2 separate regions of the Homo sapiens genome follow, and region 2 is linked to region 1. The links are contacts of gene promoters, found by promoter capture Hi-C in blood cells and fetal thymus (Javierre and others, 2016). All regions are on one chromosome and are shown on one strand. Each heading gives the region's core, a stretch centred on a gene start or on the middle of the fragment in contact. The rest is flanking DNA. Distances are from core to core; before and after follow the strand shown. Region 1 holds the start of WNK2 (WNK lysine deficient protein kinase 2). Region 2 overlaps WNK2 (WNK lysine deficient protein kinase 2).

Evidence for each region. Contacts are between HindIII fragments. The CHiCAGO score rates a contact against its expected background, and 5 or more counts as called.
Region 2: a contact is called between a fragment that was not itself captured here and the fragment with the promoter of WNK2 in region 1, in 2 of 17 cell types (M1 macrophages and M0 macrophages). The highest score is 6.4, in M1 macrophages.

The regions. Positions count from the first base shown.
Region 1 is chr9:93,181,646-93,187,297 of GRCh38, reverse strand. WNK2 (WNK lysine deficient protein kinase 2) reads right to left here and starts at 3,159. Exons shown (of 30, transcript NM_006648.4): 1 at 2,913-3,159; 2 at 1,688-2,370. The coding sequence starts at 2,368. RefSeq lists an enhancer at 156-1,121. The HindIII fragment of the contact is 9,715 bases long and covers 1-5,652 here.
Region 2 is chr9:93,295,667-93,301,940 of GRCh38, reverse strand. WNK2 (WNK lysine deficient protein kinase 2) reads right to left here. Exons shown (of 30, transcript NM_006648.4): 24 at 3,874-4,088; 25 at 2,680-2,871; 26 at 1,792-1,890. Among named protein-coding and RNA genes, the nearest start is that of WNK2, 110 kb to the right of the region's middle. RefSeq lists enhancers at 1-740, 2,689-3,189. The HindIII fragment of the contact is 6,626 bases long and covers 709-6,274 here.

The DNA of each region.
Region 1 (5,652 bases), core at 1,910-4,409:
CCACCCCATGCCTGCAGGGGACAGACCCAGAGACAGAATCGCCTGCGTTTCCTTAAAGGGAATGGGAACTAACAAGCTCCAAGAGTCACATGCGCCTGCGATGCCTCAGCCAGATCAGCAGGCTCTGGCTGCCGAGGTCTAACTCAAATCCAGCCTACTGCAGCACCCCTGTTCCATCCACCACCCTGCAGAGGCAGCACCTGAGGGTGCTCCGGTCAGAAGGGCAAGAGCAGGAAGACCGCTCGCCAGAATCAAGAGTCGTCTCCCCTTTCAGGCCCTCTCTTCTCTCTGCTTTCCCTTGCAGCAGGAATGCCCAGCACACCCCAGGACCCCCAGATCACAGCCCCCTGCCCCACCCACTGCCTTTCCTGTACCATCAGAACCTACAGGACCATGAGGGAGGGGAGCTGTTCAGTCCCTCCTAAGGACCTCACACAATGCCACTGACCCCTAACTTGAAAAGCCACATCTCCAAGGCAGAACCAAGGGGTGGTGGAGAGGCAGGTCTCTGGAGCTCTTTGTCTTGGGAGAAAGGCTGACGACAGGTCGACACCCACCGAATTATCCAGGCTTGCACACACACGCAGGCCACCCTGTCGGGGCCGGAGGATATAGCAATTGAATCCCACTTCTGAGTCAAAAATGCAAGAGTCCCGCAGTGTGGCCAGCGGCCCCAGAACACAGCTTGCCCCAGCTAGCCCCAGCCCCGTTTCAGGCCTGGACTGGACAGCCAGCTAACTTTACAGGCCAACAGAGTACACTTACACCTCCAGCCGGCACTCTCCCAGACTGGCTCACGCCTGACAGCTGCCCACCTCCAAGGAGGGAGGCCTGTAAACACCCCCTGGACAGGCATGGCCTCTGCTTCCTAGGCTGTCCCAGGACAGCTAAGGTGGCTGTTTATATAATCTTGCAGGGCTGGGGCTGACACCACGGTGATGGCAGGATTATGAAAAATGCATGCCCAGAGCCTCTGCAGCCAAGAAAAACCCCCACACGCATTCTGCATGACTCGGTTTTAAGACCTCTCACACGTCCATTTTGTGAACAAATGGAGCTCTCAGAGCAGCAGAGGCGACTAACCACACTTCCAGGCCTTGCCCAGCTGTCCCCAGAGCTCTACCAGGCACCACCTCTGGGTCACAGGCCCTGGGTCAGAAGAAGTCTCTGCAGGTATCCCTGCTGGGGCAGCCACGGCTTGCTGGACACAGGAAAGTACTAATTTATGGGCAGCCCAGAGCCCCCAAAACACTCTGACTGCACACACCGGGCCTTGAAGCCTCCACACTGTTTTGCAAAGACACAACAGTCCAGACTCCCTGGGTCATTAAAGTAGGTCATCGGGACTGGAGAAGCAGCAGCCTAAGAGACACAGCCTCCGAGGCCCACTCTCCAGGACCCTCTCTACGCCCACAGCGTGCACACTTACACCAAACGCACAACAGAGGCCTGCCCTCGCCACCAGCTGACTCACAAACCGCAACCTGCGCACGGACACAGCCAGGCCCCACATGCCGTCCGCACACCTGGTATGCATCCTGCCAGCCATCCACACAGAGGGTGACACACATGGAGCCCCGCCGCCCCCAGGGCTTCTTAAGGCCAGGCGCAGGAGCAAGGACAGGCCCAAGGACGCACTCGCGGACAGACCCTGCGGAAAGCCCCCTGCGGGCTGGGGCACCCTCACCTGCAGCTCACACCAGGCCACCTCCACCCAGGTCTCCGTGTCCAGCCCCTTGTAGACCGTCTTGAAGGAACCGCGGCCCAGCTCGATGTCGAACTTGAGGAAGCGGCCGTCCAGAGAGGTGGCCACGGCCTTGAGGTCGTCCTCGTCGTCCTCCTCCTCTTCGGGCTCGTCCCGGCGAGTGCGCCCGGGCTCAGGCTTCGCCTCGGCCGCCCCCTCATCCTCCTTCCTCACGGTCGCCGCCGCCTCCTCCCTGGGGCCGCCGTCGGGGGCAGGCGCGGTTTCGACAGCGGCTGCGATGGGGTCCGGGCCGGGCTCCTGCGTGCCCACGGGCTCGGGGCCGGCGTCCGCGGGGGCTCCGGGGGCTCCCGGCTGCGCTACCAGCGCTGCGGGCGCGGGGGCGGCGGGGCGTCCGCGGGCGCGCTCCGCGATGAGGCGGCGCGTCTTGCAGAGCAGAAGCACCCGGCGCTGCAGGGGCTGCGGGGGCTGCGGGCCCGGCGCCTCGGCTGCCTCCAAGCCCGGCGGCTCCTCCTGGTCCGACTCTACCACGCTGCGCCGCAGAAAGCGCTGGGGCCCCGGCCGCGCCGCCTTCGCCCGAGGCTCCGCCATGCCCGCGGGCCCCGCGCCGCGCCCGGGCTCCATCAGCGTGCCGGGGACGTCTCGGCGGCCGCCATCGCCGTCCATCTCTGTGGGCCAAGGACACACAGGCCCGCGTGAGCGCCGGCCCTGCCGCACCTGCCCAGGCCGCCGGATGAGACAACGCCGCCCTAAGCCCGCAACCTGCCCAGCCCCGGCCGCGGAGAGAGCCTGCGGGGGCCGTCTCTGGGGGCCCTGGGAAAGGGGGGCTGCAGACGGGACCAGAGGCTTGGGTTGGGGAGGAGGGGTCCGTGCCCTGCTCAGCCCCAGGCTGCGGAGAGGGACGGGCCTGTGGTGTCCCTGGAACCCTGGGAGAGAGGACCTGCTAGGGTGTCCCTGAGGGCCCCGGAGGCCGGCAGAGGGATCTCGCGCCCTGCCCAGCCCTGGCCCAGGAGGGTTCTGCTAGGCTGTCCCGGAGGCAGCTGTAAAGGGGATAGGGAAGCCCGGGGGTGGGAGGAAGGCAGTGGCCCGGCGGCGGCTCCACAAAGGACGCGGGCCCGGGGCGCGGGAGGGGCGCGCGGGGAGGGGGCTGCAGCGCCGCGGCGCGCACACAAAGGCGGCGAGCGGCGTTGAGGGGAGGCTCGGCACTCACAGGGCGAGCGGACGCCGTCCATGCCCGCGGCCCGGCGGCCAGGGCGTGCGAGGCGGGAGAGATCACGCTTCGAGGACGGGGTCCGAGTTCCGGGCGAGGTCCGCGCTGGGGTGGGGGCCGTGGCGCCGCTCCAGCTCCTGCGCGCTGCTCTCTCGGGCCGGGCCACTGCGGGGCCGCGCTCCCGCGTGCTCCTGCCGGCTTCGCGCGGCTCCGCTCCCGCACCGGCTCCGACCCGGCGCGCGGGGAGGGCGGGGCTCCGTTCGCCCCGCCCCGGACCGGCGCAGGGGGCTGGGCCTGGCACGCCCACCTGGCTGCGGACGGGCTGGCTGACTGGCAGGCGCGCGCGGCCACCTGCGGGCCGGCTACCTGGGCTCCCACCCGCGGTTCTTTGCTCGAGGTAGCGCTCCTGTCCTCTGAAGTTCTTTGGAACGCCCCGCAGGGCTGTCAGCTGCGGAGGACCCCGTTTCTTCCTGAGAGGAGGCAGCAGGCTCAACGCCTCAGCACGCCGCAGCCCGGCGCGCTAGACCTCAAGGCCCTGTGCCAGGACAGAATGGGCAGGCTAGGAAGAAAAGGACCAGGGGTACCGCCGCCCTCGGGAGCCCAGCCTGGGGCTAAGCCTGGTGGGGCTCAGCGTGTCCTTTCCTGCCCTCACTTCACCACCAGGAACCATGAGGACCTCATCATCACCCAGGGAGGCACTGGTGATCATTATGCCCATTTCACAGTCTAGAGCAAACTGAGGCGCCAAAGGCAGAAGTTATATGCTCTAAATCCCAGAACTTTCAAGACCGAAGCTGAGCTGGAATGCCTTGGATGGGATATGGAGAGGCTTCCAGAAGCCCCTTGACCCAAAGTGTTCTTCCTTCCCACCTCTGCCAGATGCCACCTCTCCCGAGAAGTCTTCCATGATCTCTAGCTCCTTCCTCCTCTAGACCCCCACGGACAAGCCCTCTCTTGGGCGTCTCTGGCCCTAATGCAGCAGGTGACCTGTGTCAGTAACCATACTGCTAAGTTCTGAGCCCTGCTCCAGGCAATGCCCTGAGCTAACACTTCACCCTTACCCCAGCCTCCATGATCCTAGGTGAGGAAACTGAGGCACAAGGGAGATACCAGAGTATTCTCATCTCAGTCCCCATCCCACTGGGCTGGCACCCCCATCAGATACACACACACTTCCAGAGATGAAAAGATGCTTGTGGGCCTGTAGGCCTTGGAGCCCCTGGCACAAAATAACTCATGTGGCATAAAAGCCAGCAGAGGCGATATCTCACCTTCACAATGTAGAGGGAAGAATATGCCAGGCCAACTGTTACCCAGAGAAGCAGGACTTCCTGGAGCCCCGCTGGGCACTGGCACTGGCTGAAACTAATTTGTGAGGGGCAACAGTGAACATCCCTTCCCAGCTCTGGGTTCAGCAATGCCACCCTGTAGCCTGAAGTCAGCAATGCTGGGAGTATTTACACTGCGGAAATTGGCAAACACCTCAAATCAGGACTTTTCTCCCCAGAGAGCCAGTGGTTAAATAGTGTGCTAGGTGTAGGGCTATGCATTTGGCACTTGCCTGTTATTTATATAATCTAATCTACCGTGTGAGACAGGCATTCATTCCGGGGCTCAAGTCCGCTGGCATGAGCCCAGAGCTCACACGAGGAGGAGGCCAAACAGCAGACGCCAGCTCTGCAGGACAGAGAGGCCTGAGGGACAGGGATCTAAGTTGCATCTCCTGGGGCAGGAGTCTTCCAGGTAGAGGTCAGGGGTGGAAAAGGATCTTTTCTGTCTTCCCTTTGGAGGCTAAAGACCCCCCAACCTTGCCCCTAACCAGCTGAGTGAACTTGGGCAAGTCCTGGTCCTTCCTGAGCCTCAGTATCTGGCCCTGCAGAGTGGGCTGATCATCCTGACTTGCCCACCTTAAAAGGCTGCCAATTCCTTGTAGATTCAGTCAATCTAGGAAGGGCACCAAGTCCACAGACCTGTTCATGATGGGTGTGTTCAAGCCTATCCAAGGGAAAACCAGGATGGGACAGAGCTAAGCGTGTTCTGAGACCAGCACACACCTATCTGGCCTCCTCCTGCTCCCAACAGGCCACACTGGCAGTGTGTGGGCAAAATACCTGCCAGCATCGGAGAAGGTTCATCAGCACCCATGGCTGCTGCCCACCCACACTTGTACACATGCGTGGGAAAGGATGGCTACACCCACAAATCAGCAGGGAGCAGCCCAGGCTGTGGGGAGTGGGGGACAGCCTGTCCCTGAGAGAGTACTGTGTGCTCTCTGAGCCCTTGGGGTGAATTCACGCATCTCTGCTTACACACCTCCCATGGTGGAGAGCTCATTCTCTCTGCCAACCCATGACCATTAGGGTACACAGCTAAGTCAGTAGTGGACAGGTCACAGTTTCCTCTGCAAGGAATCTCAGGCTGGGCTCAGGAGCAGCTCCTGGGATCCTGGCAGATGGAGCCTGAGGGATCCTTGGACAGACCTTGGAAGTCAGGACTTCACAGCACTGGCTATATGCCCTTTGGCAGGTCACTGGATATCTCTGAGCTTCCATCTCCCTGCTGCTAAGACGGGGAGTATAAATACTGTAGTCTGCTTTACTGGGTGTCCTGAGGCTGCATGATCCAGGGTCATGATGCCAGCATTTGTCTTTTGGAGGTTTGTTTTTTGTTTTCTGCTTTTGTTTTTGTTTTTTTGAGATGGAGTTTCACTTTGTTGCCCAGGCTGGAGTGCAGTGACGGG
Region 2 (6,274 bases), core at 2,772-5,271, 110 kb before region 1:
CTCTCCCCGGCCAGCAACTTCAGAGTGTGGGGGAACTGGGGGAGACATTATGGCCCAAAAAGACTAAGACTAAGACTTGCCTGATGGGGGCTAAGCCGTGAAAACAAGCAATACCACAAAACACAGCATGGGGGTGGAAGTGGGGCCTGGGTAGGCGCCATACCTGACACTAACACCCTGCACTGAGTCTCCCAGGTGCCCTCGCCCCCAGTGACAGCCCCAGATCGAGCCGCACATGCAGGAGCCGGAAGAGGAGCAGCAAGTGAGGCACAAGGCCAGCAGGGCCGGGAACCGGCTGCGGAGAAGGAACCACAGCCGGCTGCCATAAGAGGACCCAGAGACGCAGGGGTGGGGGGGAAGGCGCCCACTCCTCCCCAGATTCAACTCAGCAACTCACCAGACACCAGGCCACCCAGACCCCCAGACCAACAGCCCAGATGACATGGTGGCCGAAACAGGGCAGCCTGTTAAACAGGCGAACGGGAAGCCCTGGGAAGGCCCTGGCATTCCTACATGGCCCTTGTGTCCTCGAATTGCCTGCCCGGAGAATGATGACCCACATGGACCTCTGATGGGGTGGGTGGATGGCAGTGGACGCCTCCCACAGGCATGGCCTCTGGCTCCCAACAAGCACAATGTATCTTTATTGTACAAGCAAAAAGTCACGTGCCCCAAACCAGCATATCCAATCCAATTGTTGAAAAAGCTTAATTTTCCTGTTAAAAAGACAAAAGCCTAAAAATCTCACAGCTTTTGGTTCACTGGCCGATCGTCCTGAGGGTTAAAAACAAACTGCGTGCTTTGGGATGGCCCCAAGCAGGCAGAGCCTTCCCTGGAGATGGAGTTCCTGGGCACTAACTGTGTTCCAGGGGATCTGAGCAAGGCTGGGACTGGGTTTTGGCTTAGTAGCAATTGGAGGAACTGCGTCATTGACTTCATCCCTGCGGTCATGGGAGGTCACAGGAAAATACAGCAAGTAAAGTGCTCCCACTGGCTGGAGGAGGAGGAGGAGCCGGCCAAGCAGGATGCATGCTCCAAAGAAGAGCTGCCCAGGTGGCCGTCACTCTCCTATTTGGGGTTGGAGACAGCAGTGGGTGAGGAGCAATGACAAAGGGGACCAGACCTGCCCTTCCAGTGGGGAGGGGCTGGGGAGGCCCGAACTGGAGCACGTTCTCTCAGCATTTCCACATGCAGGGCACAGGGCGGTGGGTGTGCAGGGTACTGGGTGCTGGGATTTGGCCCTGGTACAGAAACCACGCCCTCCAGTGACCTTTAGAACCGTATAGGCTCGCTATGTGCATGTCTTCACAGTCCAGACACGCGTGACACACACTGTGCATCTGGAGGAGGTTGGGGTTGTCTTTTTGTTGTCGCTGGAACTGGGGACAGCGGACATGTATATTTGCCACAATTGCAACAGAAAAAAAAACTACATCCAACATAAAAAAAAAAATTAAATAAATGAGGTGACGAAAAGAATGCAAAGGGCTCCAGTCCTTCTGGGCAGAGGTGCCCGGGGCGGAAGGCAGGCCAGCCGCTGCACATGCTTTCCGTGCCCAGGCACCAGCCATGAGCATGCACACACGCTGTGTGGGGCTTGGGGGTAGGCGCTGGCGGCCGCCGCTCCAGGGGACCGGCTCATGGGGTTCCACTTTGATATTAAATAGGTGACTTCGATGGGGTGGGGGAGGCATCCTATGAAATGTATGAAAGGTAATGAAGACAGGGAGGGGGTGGGGGGAGAAAACCAAGGGCCAGGAGGTGATAAAATACAAAAGAACAAATACAGACAGATGGACACAGATACGGGTCCACTGAGGAATCGAGCACGAGGTTTGCTACTAGACTTATAGGTCACTCTCTCAGACGTTGGGTGGTAAACCGTCCAGCCTGCAAATGAATATAAAGGGAAGAAAACAAAGAGACACTCATCAAGTACAGGTTGCTGCGATTCCTCCTCCACACCAACAGCCACACCAGCCTCGTCACTTAACATCCACGGCTCCATCTAGCCCAGCCCGGAGCACCAAAGCCACTGACCATGTAATGGGAAGGAGGCAGCGGGAGAGCAGAAGAGAAGCAGCCCGGAGAGGGGCGGGCAGGGTGGGGTGGGCGGGGCGGGGCGGCTTCATGGTCACCATGATTTCTCTGGACAGAGATGGTGAGGACAGGAGAGCACCTTATTGAGCAGCTGCTGCTGTCCACGCAGCGTTGACGAGAGAATTTCCTCCTCAAGGCCAAACTCCCAGCTCGAAAGCTGTGCCCTCGTCCCCCCAGCCGTCCCTCTGGACTTTGGAAGGACCCGGTGTTTAGCACCATCTGGCTCCGCTGTGGGGGTGGGGGTGGGGCAGCCAGTGCCTGGGAACTGGCGCCGGAGCACACAGCCGGATGCCAGGTCCCCTGCCCTCCCCAGTCCTAGCCACTTCCCCAAGGTCCACTCTAGCAAAGCATCACCTCCCCCTGAGCTGCTTACAAGCAAGACTTGGTGGTGGATGGGACAATTCCATTCCTTTCATCCAAAGACTACACCTTTTTTTTTTTATCCTTTTTAAAAGAAGCCTCTCAACAGCCTTTGCCACAGCTTGCAACCCCTCTACACAACACGGGCGTGCTCCTGGGGACACCACTGAGGCCCTACGTGGCTAGCACATGCTCGGAGACAGGCAAGCTGGAAATCACCTTGGCCACGCGCTCCGCCTCCATCACTGGCTAAGCCGGAGCAGATGTCCGAAGACAGGGAGGCCCGGACGGAGCAGGGCTGCTGGGTCTGCACTGCCTTCCCGCTCAGGCCCGTGCTGTCTGCAGTGAGCCCCACACTGGCTTGGGCAGGGTCCTTAGCGGGAGGGCCTCTGCTGGAGTCAGCCAAGTGACCTGGGCGGGGGGAGAAGAGGCGACAGGCACGATGAGGCGCCGCCGGGTCGGGGCCGTGTGGATTGAGTCTGTTCTGCCTGCTTATTGCTGGGTGACCTTGGGGAAGCTCACGTCTCCTGCAGACCACAGGCACATGGCCACATCTCCCACAGAGGAGTGATGGGGAAGAGCAAAGAAAGTGCCCAGTCTCTACCAGCCCCCACTGCCGTGCTGGACTTGTGTTGAGCAAATATAGTGACAGAAGACACACCCAGGCACACAGTGGCCTGTGTACTTCTCATCTCAGTCTTCCCTTAGCTCTGGGAACTGTCTCTGAATTCGTGTAATGGGTATAATTCATGGCTGTGTGCCCTGAAGGTTGTGGGCTTATAGTGAGCTTATGGTGGCTTGCCTGGCATGCTTGGGGACTTGGGCTCACAGGGGCTCCATCCCAGACTGCCAGGGCTCTCCACCAGCAAGCAGGCTGCAGTGCTGCTCAGGAGGCCTCAGGAAGCCCTGACATGCAGGGACGTGGGCTGGTGGCTGCCTGGGGCCAGGCCAGTGCCACTCAATGACTAGGTGTCACCTTTAACAAGACTGGGAGATCATCACCGTCCTCCCGTCCTCCCCCAGCCCCTAACGACAGCTGCTCGGCTGGCACACACCCAAGAAATGGGTCAAAGGAAGCAGCCACCATCCGTCCACGCAGTGCCCTGCAGAGGAGCAGGTGAGGGAGGGCAGCCTGAGCTTCCCTGGCACAGCCCACAGCCTAGAGTCTCAGGCCCAACGCTGAGCAGCCCCTGCCCACTCACGGGCCTTGCCTCTCTGCATGAGGACGGAGGACCAGGGCTGCCTTCATGCTGCAATGACTCCCCTGCTCCAGGGAAAGGAGATTCAGTAAGGAGATAACCCCGAGTGGTCTTCCAGGTCCGAGGGTGTCACACCTGCACGGAGCCTACCTCCCAGGCTCACTCGGGGGTCCCCAGCCCCGCTCCCATCCCAGCCCTGCACCCGGAGGCCGACCTGTGCTGGAGGCCACGACCTTGAGCTGCCGCACCAGGGGATTTAGCAGCTTGCCTGCCTTCAGCTTGCTCTTGCTGGTTTTTCTCCGGCGGCCAGTGGGGGGTGCCGTGTGGAAGAAGCCCACGTTGGGGGGCAGTGGCTTGCCCAGGCGGCGGTACAGAGCTTCGATCTCCTGCTTCTGCTGGCTCTGCAGCTCCGAGATCTCCTTCAGGTGCCTGCAGGAGGGGACAGGAGGGAGCGCCGATGGGCTTCCTCGGTGTTTCCAACACCGCCAGCTCCTCCAGGAGGGAGGTGGCGTGGGAGAACATGGGATGAAGGGTGGGCACCCTGCCTGTGCCTTGGCCTGGGCCACTCTAAAGCGGCACACAGGGGCTGTAAAATGACACTGTTTGTTCATATCTAAACGGGGAGGTCCCAAGGTAGTGGGCCTCTGGCATCGACGTGCCCAACAGCACGGGCCAGGCTAAGAAGCCTCAAACTTCCAAATACCCAGACTCGGAATGCTTACATTGATACTTGCAATGAAAGTCCCAAACATGAACACAGGTGAAGGGAAATCAGCAGGTGCCAGGCACTAGAGACTGCCTCCATTTATCAGGCAAATGTGTGTTATTTCCTCCACAGGGGAAACAGACAGTGGAAGGCAGCTCAGACCAATGCAACACGGCATGAAGAAGTCAGCGAGACGCTCACTGACTTCCAGGGGCCATGCCACACCATATGTGAGCCCACTGCCACAGGTCCCACATCACCCCGCAGGTGAAATGCAGGTGGCTCATTGACCATGGGCAAGGGCAGAGTCTAGAACTGCCGAGGCAAGAGGAGGATGCCCAGGGGAGGATGCAAAGGGGAGGATGCGGAGGGGTGGATGCAGAGAGGAGAATGTGGAGGGGAGGATGGGAAGGGGAGGATGGGGAGGGGATGACGCCGAGGGGAGGACGCCGAGGGGAGGACGCCAAGGGGAGGAAGCCGAGGGGAGGAAGCCGAGAAGAGGATGTGGAGGGGAAGATGCGGAGGGGAGGAAGGTGAAAGGAGGATGCTGAGGGGTGGATGGGGAGGGGAGGATGCGGAGGGGAGGAAGCCAAGGGGAGGAGGCCGAGGGGATGCAGAGGGGAGGAAACAGAGGGGAGGAAGGTCGAGGGAGGTAGAATGGGGAGGGGAGTAGGCTGAAGGGAGGATGCGGAGGGGAGGGTGCGGAGGGGAGGAAGGTGAAGGAAGGATGGAGGGGGAGGAAGATGAGGGGAGAATGGAGAGGAGAGAAAGGTGAGGGAAGGATGGAGGGGGAGGAAGGTGAGGGGAGGATGGAGAAGGGAGGATGGAGGAGGAGGAGGAAAGTGAGGGGAGGATAGAGAGGGAGGAAGGTGAGGGGAGAATGGAGAGGGGAGGAGGATGAGGGGAGGATGGGCAGGGGAGAAAGGTGAGGGGAGGATGGAAGGGAAGGAAGGTGAGGGGAGGATGGAGAGGGAATGATGGAGAAAGGAGGATGAAGGGGGAAGAAGGTAAGGGGAGGATGGAGAGGGGAGCATGGAGAGGGGAGGAGGCCAAGGGGAGGAAGGTGAGGGGAGGATGGAGGGGGAGGAGGGAGAAGGAAGGATGAAGAAGGAGGAAGGTAAGGGGAGGATGGAGAAGGAGGAAGGTGAGGGGAGGATGGAGGGGGAGGAAGGTGAGGGGAGGATGGAGGGGGAGGAAGGTGAGGGGAGGATGGTGAGGGGAGGATGGTTAAGGGAGGGTGGTGAGGGGAGGAAGGAGAGGGGAAGATGGAGGGGGAGGAAGGTGAGGGGAGGAAGGTGAGGGGAGGATGGAGGGGACGATGGAGAGGGGAGGAAGGTGAGGGGAGGATGGAAAGGGGAGGAAGGTGAGGGAAGGATGGTGAGGGGAGGGTGGTGAGGGGAGGATGGTGAGGGGAGGGTGGTGAGGGGAGGAAGGAGAGGGGACAATGGAGAGGGGAGGAAGGTGAGGGGAGGATAGAGGGGGAGGAAGGTGAGGGGAGGATAGAGGGGGAGGAAGGTGAGGGGAGGATGGAGGGGATGATGGAGAGGGGAGGAAGGTGAGGGGAGAATGGAGAGGGAAGGAAGGTGAAGGGAGGATGGTGAGGGGAGGATGGAGAGAGGAGGAAAGTGAGTTGAGGGTGGAGAGGGGAGGAAAGTGAGGGGAGGTTGGAGAGAGGAGGAAAGTGAGTTGAGGATGGAGAGGGGAGGAAGGTGAGGGGAGGATGGAGAGAGGAGGAAAGTGAGTTGAGGATGGAGAGGGGAGGAAAGTGAGGGGAAGCTGGAGAGACAAGGAAGGTGAAGGGAGGATGGAGAGGGGAGGATAGAGAGGGGAGGAAGGTGGGGGAGGAAGGTGAGGGGAGGATGGTGACGGGAGGATGGAGAGGAGAGGATGGGGAGTGGAGCTGGGCCTC